Linked DNA regions of Homo sapiens: regions 1, 2, 4 and 5 are each linked to region 3. The links are contacts of gene promoters, found by promoter capture Hi-C in blood cells and fetal thymus (Javierre and others, 2016). All regions are on one chromosome and are shown on one strand. The core of a region is centred on a gene start or on the middle of the fragment in contact, and the rest is flanking DNA. Distances in the headings are between cores, read along the strand shown. Region 1 overlaps TAF4 (TATA-box binding protein associated factor 4). Region 2 overlaps TAF4 (TATA-box binding protein associated factor 4). Region 3 holds the start of HRH3 (histamine receptor H3). Region 4 overlaps TAF4 (TATA-box binding protein associated factor 4). Region 5 overlaps TAF4 (TATA-box binding protein associated factor 4).

Region 1 (2,700 bases), core at 36-2,535, 210 kb after region 3:
GCAAAGGAGTGTTTAAAAAATTGGAGACAGAAAATGTTGACTGCTAGATTTATACATTGGAAAAGTACTAGTTTAAAATATCAGTAAACATTTGCATTCTGATTATTCATGTAGAATGGAAATGTTAGGAATCGAGTACAGGCCACTGAGTTGTCTGAGCTACCTTTTGGCGTCTGGCTGTTCATTTGCTTAGCAAAGCAGCCCCTCCTTTCTGACAGTTTGACACTGATGACCCATCCTCCATTGCTCGAATCTGCTCTGAAAACTCCCCTCTGTGGGAGGCTTCTTGTTGACACTCACTTTTGGGGAGTAAAGAAAGGTGGGTTTGGGTGATTGCAGGGAGCTGGGGACCCTCCCCTATGGGAGGCTGCGGCTGTGGAGCCCTGACCGCCCTGTAGCCAGCCTCTGCACCTGGGAGGATGGAGCTTTCAGGAGCCGTTCTTCTGTTTGTTGTTTTGATTTCTGAGAGATGGGGATCTGGGTTGCCTGTTAGGATTATTTACTCTGGTCTCTATGTGACTTTTTCCATGGACTTCTGAGGACTGGGGTCTCTGCAGTGCCTGGCTTTGTGAACGTCCGTTTTTGATGCAGGTGCAAATCATGCCTTCCTCACCCGCTCAGGACTGCGATCGTCAGGGCACAGGGCAGGCCTCCCAGCAGCACTCCCGTGTCCAGCGGGCTGGCAGGTGGCCGGGGTCCTTGGCTTCCTGGGCGTCCTGGCCACCGCAGGGAGGCTTGTTTTCTTTTGCTGGGCGTGAGGCTGGTCTCCCCCTCGTCAGCTGGTGGCGTGAGATGCCCTTACCTTGTGTTTTTGGATTCTTGTAGCCTCAGCTCGTTCTGGGTGGCGCTGCCCAGACGGCTTCACTTGGGACGGCGACGGCTGTTCAGACGGGGACTCCTCAGCGCACGGTACCAGGGGCGACCACCACTTCCTCAGCTGCCACGGTAAGAGCCACTCCTTTCCGTGCCTTCAAAGACGGTCAGGCCCGTGGCGCAGGTCAGAAAATGCAGCCTTGAGACCTCAGGCCGGCTTCTGTCCCAGACCGCTCACTGCTTGCTTCACAAAGCAGTGAACAGTCTGGGGCCCACGTGAGCACGTGGGGCTCTGCTGCTGTGCTGTGTGAGGTGGGCTCCGAGGGCCTTAGACCGCAGAAGTCTGCAAACAGCAAAAGCCCAAACACCTGCCTTTGAAAAAGTCACTGGTGCACTGTCGCGTTGTATGTAAAACAGCAGCGCCACCCGTTTGTACACACTCGTAGTGTCGGCCTGTATCGATACACATCTTTATTAAAACAGAAGAGTCACTGGTGAACTGTTGTGTTCAGTGTGTAAAACAGCAGCGCCACCCGTTTGTACACACAGTGTCGGCCTGTATCGATAGACATCTTTAAACAGTGGGCCCCACTTGACGCCTTTTTGGTGTTTCTTTGCTGCGTACTTTTCGTTGCTTTAGTGACCGCATCCTATTTGGTTCCTTCTGTGTCCGTTTGGATTGGCATAGGTTGTCCTTATGGTCAGCAACATTGTAGCAGGCATCTTCGCAGAGTCTCTTTTCACTTTTTTAATTATTTGCATAGCTGCATTCCTAGATGTGGCCTTGCGGGGCTGAGGGAGATGCTGACTTCGGTGGCCATGTGACTGATGTGGCTGGCCTGCCCCATGGCCCAGGGTTCCAAGAGGTGGTGCGTTTTCTTGAAAGAAGTTTAGAGAAGAAATATATGTATCTTTTGTACATATGCATATTTTAGTAACCAAAGGCTGTGACAAAAATCTGCCTTTTAAGATTTTTCACTTATATCTTTTTACTTTAATCCAGGAAACTATGGAAAACGTGAAGAAATGTAAAAATTTCCTATCTACGTTAATAAAACTGGCTTCATCTGGCAAGCAGTCTACAGAGACAGCAGCTAATGTGAAAGAGCTCGTGCAGAATTTACTGGTGAGAAACCTTGACTTTACATTCCCTTTCCCCTAAAGCCTGTTGCATAGGACAGACACCTGTTGCTGCTGTGACCTGTGCCCGGGAGGCCTGTGCCAGCAGGGAGAGCTCCTCTGGAAGGCTGCAGGCGAAGGGGAGGGGTGCACACGTGTCGAAGGCGTGTGTGGCCTAGCTAAGGAGACTCCTTCCTGGGGCTGGGTGTTCTGGGGCCGGCGCCTGGAGGTCTCCCGGGCTTTGCCGTTTTCTGGTGCCTGCGTCCCTTGTCTGTGGCTCTCTTCTCCTCTGGCTGCCCCAACCATGCTGCACTCTGGTCAGGGTCTCCAGCAACTCCCTTCTGGCCCTCTCCCCACTCCTGTGTGACCTCTTATAAAATTCCCAGGTGTCCGCAGTCCCGGCTGGAACAGGCATTCTGCACCCTGAGCCACCAGAAGCCCCCTCCCCATGGAGCAGACCAGCTGAGGCACATTCGCGCTCCAGTGGCAGAGCCGTCCCCCCCACCCCCACCCCTCCCGAAACCTCTGTCGCAGAGAACAGCACTCTGTCCCCTGGCCGGAAGGTGGGAGGGAGGATTCCTGGCAGCCTCCCCTCTCCTTAACCCACAGTCCCAAGCTCCAGATCTCCACTCATGGCCGAGCTCTCGGCTGTCCACCTTCCTCAGCCTCATGGCTGTCTCGTGGCTCAGGGCTGTGCTGGCGTCAGTGGGATGGCCTGGGGATCTGGAGTGGCTGGTCTTACCGTGCCTTCTCCTTGTCCGCCTGACC
Region 2 (2,700 bases), core at 76-2,575, 160 kb after region 3:
CTTTCTCACCATGGGCCTTGATCCCTTGGCCTAGGGGGCGTGTGCTTGCTGCATGTTTTAGGATGAGTACTCCCAGGTGAATGTGTGTCTGTGGGTGCTGTCTGGAGCATTGGTTCCCATCTGTGGGGAAAGGGGGAAAATGTCCACTAGCCCTTAATCGCGCTGTTGGGACGGGTTGGATTTGGCGAGTCCAGGCCCATGCTGGGTGGCGGCATGCAGACGGCCACCCCTGAGGTTGCAGGAGCTGTGAGTTCTGGTGGCCAGTGGTGGCAGCCAGTGCTCTGGCACAAGGGACATTCCTAAAAGTTTAGATTTTGTGACTTGAGGGCCCTGTTGCCGTTTGACCTGGGAGGAATATGTTGTTCCTCGGAGCCTTGGCTTACCCAGCTGTAAAGTGGGGTTGCCCTTTTGGTGAAGAATGTGAATTCTGTCAGGTTGGGCCAGATAACATAGCTGTCAGGTGGCGCTCACTATTCCAAACTCTCCCAGTTCCCCTCATTTTTCACTGATTTTCACACATTAATCCAGACTGGATGTTTTCTCAGTGACTGAGGTGTTTGGTGTGGCAGCTGACTGGTTCTGTCAATGGGGAAGTTACCGAGGTCTGAGGTGGGTCACCCTGGGGCGGTGGTTGCCAACATAGGGGAGGGTTGCAGTGGCCTTTGGAGGCCTGGACCTGGGTGGAGGGCTCACTTTAGGCTAGAGGCCTTAATCTGGTGTTTCTTTTGACATACTCAGGTAGGAGTGACATTTGAAAAGAACAAAGAAAAAGAACTTTTGGGGAGCTGTGTAAAGACAGCCCTGGACAGCTCTGCCTAGCATAGGGCAAGGGCGCCGCTCTGGGTCTTCCCTTCCTCCCTGCCCCCTGCCCCGCGGCTGGGGTCGTCACCATCGCCTTCGGGATGAACAGAGTCATCTTGGTGACAGGTTGGGATGGACCTCACCTGCCTTTGGTGTCTCAGAGCTGGTGACCCTCATGGCTTAGTGGCAGCCAGGAGTCGGGGTCCTGTGACGCTCTTAGGAGCCTCTCTCCTCACTGCTTACTGTGCCCGAGCACTGCATTCACAGCAGAGGTCTATGAGTTTGAACAGAGGATGACGTTTGAAGTTCGTTACGGTTGCCCTGGTTCTTAGGGCCTGTGAGAAGCTTTGTAGGAGAGGGTGTCCCGCTTGCTTCTGTGGCAAATGGACCTGAGGCAGGCCCCGGGCGCCTGGGAAGTTGGCCTTCTCCCAGGGCAGAGAGCAGAGCCACCCTGGCTTCCAGGACTGCCCCCGGGCTCCCCGGTGTGCTGTGGAAGTTGCCCCTTAGACATCAGCACAGGGAGGCCGGGAGGCGGCGTCTGGTCAGAGCAGCACAGACCGGGCTCAGCAGAACAGACTGGTGGGCGTGTCCGCATCCCGAAATCAGAGTGGAATGGAGACAGTTCCTGTTCTACCTCCAAAGCCTTTTCTACTGTATAATGTGAGTTTTCTTCCACTTAAGGGATAAATTTGAAGAAAGCTTTTATAAATTGTTGGTTGTAAGTGAGTTGATCAAAGCATAATTAGCAGCTGTGTTTGAGGATCTTGAAGCAGAGGTGTAACAGGGCTCTGGAGAAGCTTGCCTGAGATTTGGGGTAATTTGCAGGGTTCCCGAAGTGCTTTGCTTTTCTTCTTCATGGTGCTCAGTAGGAACCTCCAAGCCCTCGATCATCCAGGAAACAGTTGCTGTTTAGGGTGTTCACCTGTGGTGCCCGGCTCAGGCAGCGTGATGGGGGCGTTTACTTAATCAGGCCTTTGATAGCAATAAAGCAGTTAAATAAAGGGGGCTTTTGGCTGCAGGCCCTTCTGTGCCGAGTGCTGTGCACCTGGGCTTCCTGGACGCTTCTGCTTCCAGGTGGGCCTGCGGTTGCTATGGCATTGTGGTGTCAGCTGCAAACACGTACACAGCTGTTCTTTCCAATTCTTGCGTGGAATAATGAAGTAGAATAAGTGCTGTCAAGTTATGTTCGAAAATGGGGTGCTTAATATTTCCATGGTTGGACCATGAAAGTTTTGAGTGAAAACTTTTGATTTTTACATATCTCAAATGAACATTTGCACCAAAGATGTACAGCTTTCGAAAAACAAAGAGATACATGTTGTCCACCATGAGGCCCCTCTCCCATTTGAGAAAGTACCTGGTGTCCGCTGTTGGTCAGTCCGCGGTGGTCCCAGGCTCTTCTCCAGGCCTGCCTTCTGCCTGGAGCAGGCCATGCTGCAGTGTGCAGGATGATGTAGTGAAGTGCCCCCAGCTTCTCCCACCGTGGGTGTCATGTTGTGGAGCAGAAGTTGTCGTTGGGAACCGCGTGTGAGGGCAGGAGAAATTGTTTGTTGGGAGCCGCATGTGGGGACAGGAGAAGTTGTCTGTTGGGGACTGTGTTTGGGGACTGGAGAGGTTGGCCCCCCGAGCCCCATTGTCTGTGGCCTGGTGTGTAGACCTGTGTCCGTCCTTCCTGAGGTCTTGCTGAGGTTGGCCCCCGAGCCCCATTGTCTGTGGCCTGGTGTGTAGACCTGTGTCCGTCCTTCCTGAGGTCTTGCTGAGGTTGGCCCCCGAGCCCCATTGTCTGTGGCCTGGTGTGTAGACCTGTGTCCGTCCTTCCTGAGGTCTTGCTGAGGTTGGCCCCCGAGCCCCATTGTCTGTGGCCTGGTGTGTAGGCCTGTGTCCGTCCTTCCTGAGGTC
Region 3 (2,700 bases), core at 35-2,534:
CTCCTTCCCCAAAGTTTCTGAAGCGCCACGGGGGGCGAGGGGAAGGGGCAGGTCCCCACAGTATGGGGAAGCTGCTATAAGTAGGGGAGTGACGGTGCATGTCAGCGCCCGGGGTCCCCTCTGCAGCCCCTCCCCCAGACACGCGCACTCTGGCCTCTTTGAGGCACCAGGGATGCCTTCGGCTGCTTCCTTCTCCTGTGAGCGGAGTTGCTGCTTCCTTCTCCTGGGGCGCGGCTCCCTCCCTGCCTGCTGTCTGATGTGTGTCTCGCTCTTGGTGGGTCCTCAGCCTGGCGCTGGTGGCTGCTTCCCTGGCCTGTGGGTGTCTGTGTATCTGAGTGTGGGCATGTCTGTCTGTCTGCCCTCAGTGTTTCAGGAGGAATCTGTCCTTGACCCGGTGTATCTGAGCGCATGTGTCTGGTGGTGGGGGCGCTCCCTCCTGCCACCTCTCCTCTCCTCCCCCGTCCCCTCCCACAGGCGCTAACACAGCCACCACCTGCGCCCTGAGCGCAGTGACCTCGTCTGTCCGCTGCAGTGGCGACTGCCCCTCTGTCCACAGGGGTCCGTGGCTGGGCTCCGAGCGGCTTGCTGCTCCCTCCTCAGCCTGAGGCCGCCGGAGCCCAGGCTAGACGCGCTCCCCTCCGGCTGGGTCCGCCCGGCGCCTCATCTTCCCTTATGTAACTCCACATCTGCCTGCGCCTTGCGGGTCACCCTGGACCCTGCACTGGGCCCTGTCCACACGGAGGCTGGCACCCAGGGTCCGTGCAAACGGGAGGTGGAGCGGACCCCTGGTCTGGGCACCGGCTTTCCAAGACCCCCTCCTCCCCATCCCTTCTCCTCCAGACGTTCCTTGCCCCGGAGACCCACATTCCCAAAACATGCACCGAGGAAATGCCCCGCAGGGCAAGTCCCCGGAGCGCGGGTGCAGGCGTTTCCCCCACCCCCACCCCGGGTCCCCACAGGCGCCAGGGCTCTCCATGATGACCGGGCAGGGGTCACCAGGGCCGAGGGCACGGGAAAGGCCGAGCAACCCAGACCCCGGCTCCGAGTGCGCGGGCTGACTGACCGCAGGCGAGCCCCCAGACCCGGTCAAGCCCCGGCCGGGCTCCCAGCCAGCTGCTGTGAGCGCAGGGGCTGGGCTCCAGGCAGCCTGGCGGGCACGCGGCGCTGTCCGTGGTGCTGCCGGCGCCGGGCGGGGCGGGGGCGGGGAGGGGGCGGGGCGAGGGCGGCAGCCAATGGCGGGGGCGCTGCGCGGGGCGCGCGGGGCGGTGGGCTGGGCGCGGGGCGCACTCGGCTGCGCGTTGCGCTCCGGCTGCACGGTCGCACCGGCAGCGGCTCAGGCTCCGGCTCCTCTCCCGCTGCAGCAGCCGCGCTGCCGGCCCCACTGGGCTCGGATCCGGCCCCGGCCCCCTCGGCACCGCCTGCTCTGGCCCCGGCCCCGGCCCCGCGGACCATGCGCTGGGCGCCCCCAGGGGAACCCGACCCGGCCAAGGGCCCGCAAAGACGAGGCTCCCGGGCCGGGGCCCCTCCCGGCCGCCCAGCTCTCGGCCGGCGCCCTGCCCCGCGTCCCGGAGCCGCGTGAGCCTGCGGGGCCATGGAGCGCGCGCCGCCCGACGGGCCGCTGAACGCTTCGGGGGCGCTGGCGGGCGAGGCGGCGGCGGCGGGCGGGGCGCGCGGCTTCTCGGCAGCCTGGACCGCGGTGCTGGCCGCGCTCATGGCGCTGCTCATCGTGGCCACGGTGCTGGGCAACGCGCTGGTCATGCTCGCCTTCGTGGCCGACTCGAGCCTCCGCACCCAGAACAACTTCTTCCTGCTCAACCTCGCCATCTCCGACTTCCTCGTCGGTAAATCCCCAGCCCCTGGCCGCTGGGGACCCAGGGGCGCCCAGCGTGGCCGGGCCAGCGGGGACTGGAACACGGACCTGGGTGGCTCCCGCAGGCACACGCCCCACCAGGGGACCCGGCCTGGGAAGGGGGCGTCCGGAGCCCATGGGGTGGGGGGCACAGGCGAAGTTCCTTGCCACTCAGGCCTCGGGACAGGGGCTGGGGAGAGATGTCCCCGGGAAGGGACACGGGCACTGGGCGAGGCGCAAGGCGCAAAGGCAGCGGGTGCAGCTCTGGCTCCTGCGCTGTAGCCAAACAAAGGCTGCTGCGGACTTAGGACGCGCGGAGGGCGCAGTGGGGCGGTTTAGAGAAGGTCTGGGGGAGGGGACATGGAAGGGGGATTTTTAGAGCTGTGTTGGGGGAAGGGACGGTGGGGAAGGTGGGGGTTGGGGGAGACGCTCGGAGGAGCGTGCTCTCACGTGTCCAGGCTCTGCTGCCGGCTGGGGGGCGGGGCACGCGGAGGGGGCTGGAGCGCCAGACACCTGTTGGGGCTGTGAGGTGCGTCTCCCAGACGCTCCAAGCCCGCTTGGCAGTAGTAGTAGCGGCTGGCGGCTGGCGGCTGCAACCAAGTGCCCTTTCAGCCAGGAGAAAGGCTTTCTCCTTGTCTAAGCTGAGACCGAGGGTTGTCCAGCGCCAGGGTAGGGGCTGGAGTCCAGCGGGGGAGGGGAGAAGGAAATTGTCTTCTTTCCTCCTTTGAGGGCTGGGAGGGCTGGACAGAAGTCCAGGGAATCCCGACTCCAGGCTCTCGGGGGTCTTGTGGTGGCCAGAGTTCCCCATGCCTGGATCATCCCTCCTGCCCCCAGGCCCAGGGGACACAGAT
Region 4 (2,700 bases), core at 58-2,557, 230 kb after region 3:
AATCCATCTATTACAGTTCTCATTTTGGTTGCAGTTCAGACTGTGCCATCTTTGGCCAATGGAAGCATCTCCAGGTTGGTTCCTGAGTCACGCTGGGACGTGGGGCTGATGTCCTTGCCGTCTGGACGTTAACATGTGTCAGGCTCACCTTACACCTTTCCTGTTTCAGACCGAAAAAGTCATTTCTCCAAGAACTGGTTTCTTCTAGTGGGAAATGGCGTTTGAAGACCACTCGCTGGGACTAGGGATGTCATTGCTGCTGGGGTGGGTTGGCCTTTTCAGTGGACAGCACTGGGAAATGTGTGTAAAACATGGTCTCATGGGCTTATATGGGTATTTCCAATTCAGGTAGTTCAAATTCAGAGGTGTAGGAGTTACCATGTTCAAAATGACGTCTTTATCTTCACAGTAAGAATTCTGGCTCTTGGCTGCCCCAAGGGCTTGGGGGGTGGGGAATTGGAGGGGAGGGCAGGAGAAGGAGAGATTAAAATAAAAGGATCCTGGTTATGGACATAGGAGATAATAGAATTAAAATATCTCCTACCTTTGGACATAGCCTGAGAATAAGAATATGGGCACTCCTGCCGAGGGTGGTGAAAACAGCCGAAAGTTGTTCATGTGCTTTCTCCCTTGGCCCCGTTTTGTATTTTGTGCTGTATTTATGTTGTCGAAACATTTAGCTGTTACACACCATAAGCTCTCCCTTTCGCCCTCTTTGAGTTTTAGTGCCATAAATAATGACATGTTTAATGCCGTGACTCGTCTTTATGTTGTGTCTCTGTAGTCATTTTGATTTTTCCAAATCTCATTCTCTGCTAGATTCTTTTGGAACGCTTCATGGGAGCAGCCACTCCCAAGTTCCCACCTGCTGATGAGTTTGTGCCCTTTGTACCTGAAGGTCTGTTTTTTGGCTCACGTTGTATTTACTGAAGTGTCTTAAGGATGTTACTCTGGATTATTTCCTCCCTAAAGTGTTACTGTCCAAATCTAATGAGAGCCTCATTTTACCTCCTGTAGGCCACGTGTTTTTCTTCCCTGGGTGTCCTTTTTCTCGGAAGCCGGCTCATCCCACTGGAGTGCGTGCTGGGCTTGGTTGTGCTGGGGTGGTGTTCTCAGTACTGGCTGTGTTCTTTCAGTGCGGTTCAAGTCTCCTTAGGAACATCTGCAATAATGATCCTTTGTGTTTGTTCTGTTCTTTTGTTTCTTTCTTCAGAGAGTCCCATTTTCCACGTGTTGTATCTTCTTTGCCTGCTGGAGCACTTTTTACAGTCTCTTAATTTTTAAAATCTCTCTCTCTCTTTTTTTTTGTTTTTTGGTTTTTTAGAGACAGGGTCTCTCTCACCCATGCTGGAGTGCAGTGGTGTGATCACAGCTCACTGCAGCCTCGACCTCCAGGGTTCAAGCAGTCCTCCCACATTGGCCTCCCTAAATGCTGCTGAGCCACTTGTGTCCAGCCTAATTTCTCTCTCTCTTTTTTTTTAATTTTTATTTTTTGAGACAGAGTCTCCCTCTGTCACCCAGGCTGGAGTGCAGTGGCTCTATCTCGGTGTGATCTCAGCTCATGGCAACCTCTGCCTCCTGGTTTTCTTCTGCCTCAGCCTCCTGAGTAGCTGGGATTACAGGTGTGCACCACCACACCCAGCTAATTTTTTTGTATTTTTAGTAGAGACAGGGTTTCACCATGTTGGCCAGGCTGGTCTCAAACTCCAGACCTCAAGTGATTTGCCCGTCTCAGCCTCCCAAAGTGCTGGGATTACAGGTGTGAGCCATTGTGCCTGGCCTAATTTTTCTCTTTTTTAAAAAATTATCTTTTTTGTCCTTTTTGGCTTCCATTTCTCTTAAGGCGTGATTTGCTGTTTACCTGCTGTTTTGAGTATGTGTTTCTGAGGTCTTCTGTGGTCTGTAGGGATGCTCTTCTGCTTTTTATCCTCTTTTTCTCTCATGGGAGCCTGTCTGGGATTTGACCTGAATGTCTTTCTGTTGCTAATTTCGACGTGAGTTTAGGTTTCTCGAACTTGTAACAGGACACGTGGTTTGCAGCGTTTGCTGACTTTGTGGTGCTCCTCTGTGGTTACTTTCCCGTGATGTTAAGAACGGGAGTCCTCAGCGTCTGTGGCTCCGGGGCTCTGTGCACCTCCCAAGCATCTGGACTTTGCTTTGCCTTCCTTGTCCCTGTCCTGCTCAGTACTGATTCACTCCCAGCAGGTTCTCTCCTGCGTGAGGCCCTGTGCTGCAGGAGCCCTGGCAGGTCAGTGTGGGCATTTGCGGTGGCCAGGCTGCCCTCCCTGGTCCTCCCCTGCCCCAGGTTTGACTGCGGCTCTTGGAGGGACCTGCTGCTCTTCCCAGGAAGTCTGCTGGCTCCTGGGTCCAGGCCCGTCGGGGTCCAGTTCTGCAGCGTCCTTCAGGTGATGGCTGCTTGTGGTTCATCTTCATCAGTTTTGTTCTAAAGATTGTCCGCTGGCTTTTGGTTTTGCTGTGTCGTTGCTCTTTTATGTGGAACTTTGGGAAGATCCAGAAACTATGCTACCCCTGTCATCGTCTTCCAGAATACATTAACTTTGAAAATTACTTATTTTAGTTTGAAGTAGTTTTCAAATCTACAGAAAAGTTGCAAGAACAGAGTAAGGAGCTCCGTGCAGACTCCGGTGTATGAGCATCACGCTGTCTGCTTCGTCCCCGCTACACCACATGTGTTTGCGT
Region 5 (2,700 bases), core at 86-2,585, 180 kb after region 3:
TTTGTGCCTTCTTAAATAAATCCAGTGTATCATTTTAAGAATTCGTCCTGTGCCTTCTTAAATAAATCCAGTGAGTCATTTTAAGAATTCATCTTGTGCCTTCTTAAATAAATTTTTGCCTAACCCAAGGTACAGGAGTTTTCTAGAATGCTTATGGCTTTAGCTCTTACTCAACCCAATTCAAGTTAATTTTGGGAGAGTTGTAAGGTAGGGGGTTGAGACTCATTTTTTCTGTGGTTACCAATCATGCCAGCCTTATGTGTTGAGGAGACCTTCCTTTCTCTATTGAACGATGCTGCTGCCTTTATTGAAACTCAGTCGGCCACGTGTGAGGACGTCACTTCTGGGATGTGTTCTGTCCACTCATGTCCTTGTCTTCCCTTCTGCAGCTCAGCACTTTCCAGCCCATTTAGAGGGAGTGTTGATGGGTGGCAGGAGTCCTCCAGTGCTGCTTTTTCGAAAACGTTGAGGGCTGTTCTGGTCGTTTGCATTCATGTGTTTCAGAATCAGTTCGTCAACTTCTACAAAAAAAGCCTCTTGATACCTTGATAGCTTTTTGTTTGTTTTGAGACGGAATTTTTCACTCTTTCACATCTTTTCCTGGAGTGCAGTGGCACGATCTTGGCTCACTGCAAGCTCCGACTCCCGGGTTCAAGTGAGTCTCCTGCCTCAGCCTCCCGAGTAGCTGGGATTACAGGCACGTGCCACCACACCCGGCTAATTTTTGTATTTTTAGTAGAGATAGGGTTTTGCCGTGTTGGCCAGGCTGGTCTTGAATTCCTGACCTCAGGTGATCCGCCTGCCTCAGCCTCTCAAAGTGCTGGGATTACAGGTGTGAGCCACTGGGCCTGGCCAATACCTTGATATCTTGCTTGGGATTGTATTGAGTCTATAGATCGGTTTTATGATCATTGATATCTTAGCAATATCGAGTGTTCTGATTCACGAACGTGTTGTACCTCTTCATTGATTTAGGCCTTTCAGGATTTTTCTCAGGGTTGTTTCAAGTTCTCAGTGTTTGTATCCTGAACATACTTTGTTAAATTTATTCTTAAGTATTCATATTTTATGCCATGTACGTGGTCCTTTAAAAAATTTTGTTTCCAATTGTTGCCAGTATTTAGAAAAACAATTGCTTTTGGCCGGGCGCGGTGGGTCAGTGGCTCGGTGGCTCAGTGGCTCATACCTGTAATCCTAGCACTTTGGGAGGCTGAGGCGGGCGGATCATGAGGTCAGGAGATTGAGACCATCCTGGCTAACACTGTGAAACCCTGTCTCTACTAAAAATACAAAAAATTAGCTGGGCATGGTGGCACACGCCTGTAGTCCCAGCACTTTGGGAGGCCGAAGCTGGTGGATCACGAGGTCAGGAGATCGACACCATCCTGGCTAACACTGTGAAACCCTGTCTCTAGTAAAAATACAAAAAATTAGCCGGGCGTAGTGGTGGGCTCCTGTAGTCCCAGCCACCTGGAGGCTGAGGCAGGAGAATGGCATGAACCTGGGAGGCGGAGCTTGCTGTGAGCCGAGATCGCGCCACTGCACTCCAGCCTGGGCGACAGAGTGAGACTCCGTCTCAAAAAACCAAAAAAAAAACAACAAAAAAATTGCTTTTAAAAATAGTGACTTTATAGCTCTTCCCCAAGCGGCCTGAGATGATCTGTGAAAATGGTTCATTAGTCACTTGACCCAGAAATCCCCACAAAATCGTGCAAATCCAGAGGTTCAGGTCTTCTTGATCACTTTAAGAACGCTCGTGAAACTGCCCAGGCCATCAAGGGTATGCATACGTGAGAAGTCACCAAGTGTCTGAAAGACGTCCCTTTATAGAAACAGTGTATGCCATTCCGACTTGGCAGGGGTGGAGCTGGCAGGTGTACCTAGGCCAAACAGTGGGGCTGGACACAGGGTTGGTGACCCGAAAAGAGCGCTGAATTTTTGCTGCACACAATTAAAAATGTGGAGAGTCACACTGAATGTGAGGGTGTAGATGTAGGCTCTCTGGTGTTTGAGCACCCAGGATGCGCTGTGGGACTTCCAGGGCTGGTGGTCGGGTTCATCCATACAGGGCGCCCCGTCACATTGAGACGATCCTCACGGTAAAGACACTTGTTCCCAAGCCAGGTGAGGAAGTTGCACAGAGGAAAACTGTACCAGAAGAAACTGAAGAAACAAAAACTTGTGGCATGGGAATAAACTCAGCATACAATAAATGCAATTAAAATAAAAAAAATTGACTTTATATCCTGTGGATTTCTTAGGATTTTCTTCAAAGATAGGCGTGATCTGCAGTAAAGAGTGGTTCATGTCTTTTTTTCTGGTCTGTGCACCTTTTATTTCTTGTTCTTGTCTCATTGCACTGGCCACAACCTCCAGTGTAATATGACAAACAGAAGCGTTGAGAAGGGACATTTTGCCTTGTTTCTGATCTTGGGGGAGGCAGTCTGTCTTCTCTCATGACGCACATGATGTCAGCTGCAGGTTTTTCATAGAGGCCCTGTGTTAGGTTGAGGAATCCCCTTCTGTCATAGGCCATTCTGGCTGCTGTAACAAAATACCATAGACTGGGAGGCTTCTAGACACCGGAAATTCATTTCTCACAGTCCTGGGAAGTGCAAGATTGCCATGCTGGTGAGGGCCTGCTGCCTGCTCCCATGCAGCTTCTTGTGTGTCCTCAGAGTGTGGAAGGAAGGGGCAAGG

Evidence for each region. The method cuts DNA at HindIII sites, captures the fragments that hold promoters and counts their contacts. A CHiCAGO score of 5 or more calls a contact.
Region 1: a contact is called between a fragment that was not itself captured here and the fragment with the promoter of HRH3 in region 3, in 12 of 17 cell types (activated CD4 T cells, M0 macrophages, neutrophils and 9 more). The highest score is 10.4, in activated CD4 T cells.
Region 2: a contact is called between a fragment that was not itself captured here and the fragment with the promoter of HRH3 in region 3, in 1 of 17 cell types (neutrophils). The highest score is 5.5, in neutrophils.
Region 4: a contact is called between a fragment that was not itself captured here and the fragment with the promoter of HRH3 in region 3, in 6 of 17 cell types (M2 macrophages, monocytes, M0 macrophages and 3 more). The highest score is 5.7, in M2 macrophages.
Region 5: a fragment that was not itself captured here is called in contact with the fragment with the promoter of HRH3 in region 3 in 10 of 17 cell types (neutrophils, M2 macrophages, total CD4 T cells and 7 more); the score reaches 8.8 in neutrophils.

What each region holds. Positions count from the first base shown.
Region 1 is chr20:62,008,291-62,010,990 of GRCh38, reverse strand. It overlaps TAF4 (TATA-box binding protein associated factor 4), which reads left to right. Exons shown (of 15, transcript NM_003185.4): 4 at 826-945; 5 at 1,817-1,939. Among named protein-coding and RNA genes, the nearest start is that of MIR3195, 55 kb to the left of the region's middle. The HindIII fragment of the contact is 5,713 bases long and covers 1-2,700 here.
Region 2 is chr20:62,058,714-62,061,413 of GRCh38, reverse strand. The region is part of intron 1 of TAF4 (TATA-box binding protein associated factor 4); the gene reads left to right. Among named protein-coding and RNA genes, the nearest start is that of MIR3195, 4.7 kb to the left of the region's middle. The HindIII fragment of the contact is 354 bases long and covers 1,149-1,502 here.
Region 3 is chr20:62,218,862-62,221,561 of GRCh38, reverse strand. It overlaps HRH3 (histamine receptor H3), which reads left to right and starts at 1,284. Exons shown (of 3, transcript NM_007232.3): 1 at 1,284-1,841. The coding sequence starts at 1,592. RefSeq lists a silencer at 1,070-1,179. The HindIII fragment of the contact is 16,770 bases long and covers 1-2,700 here.
Region 4 is chr20:61,990,218-61,992,917 of GRCh38, reverse strand. All of the region lies in intron 14 of TAF4 (TATA-box binding protein associated factor 4), which reads left to right. Among named protein-coding and RNA genes, the nearest start is that of MIR1257, 38 kb to the right of the region's middle. RefSeq lists an enhancer at 2,665-2,700. The HindIII fragment of the contact is 9,088 bases long and covers 1-2,700 here.
Region 5 is chr20:62,036,925-62,039,624 of GRCh38, reverse strand. All of the region lies in intron 1 of TAF4 (TATA-box binding protein associated factor 4), which reads left to right. It also overlaps the pseudogene RPL17P48. Among named protein-coding and RNA genes, the nearest start is that of MIR3195, 27 kb to the left of the region's middle. The HindIII fragment of the contact is 5,228 bases long and covers 1-2,700 here.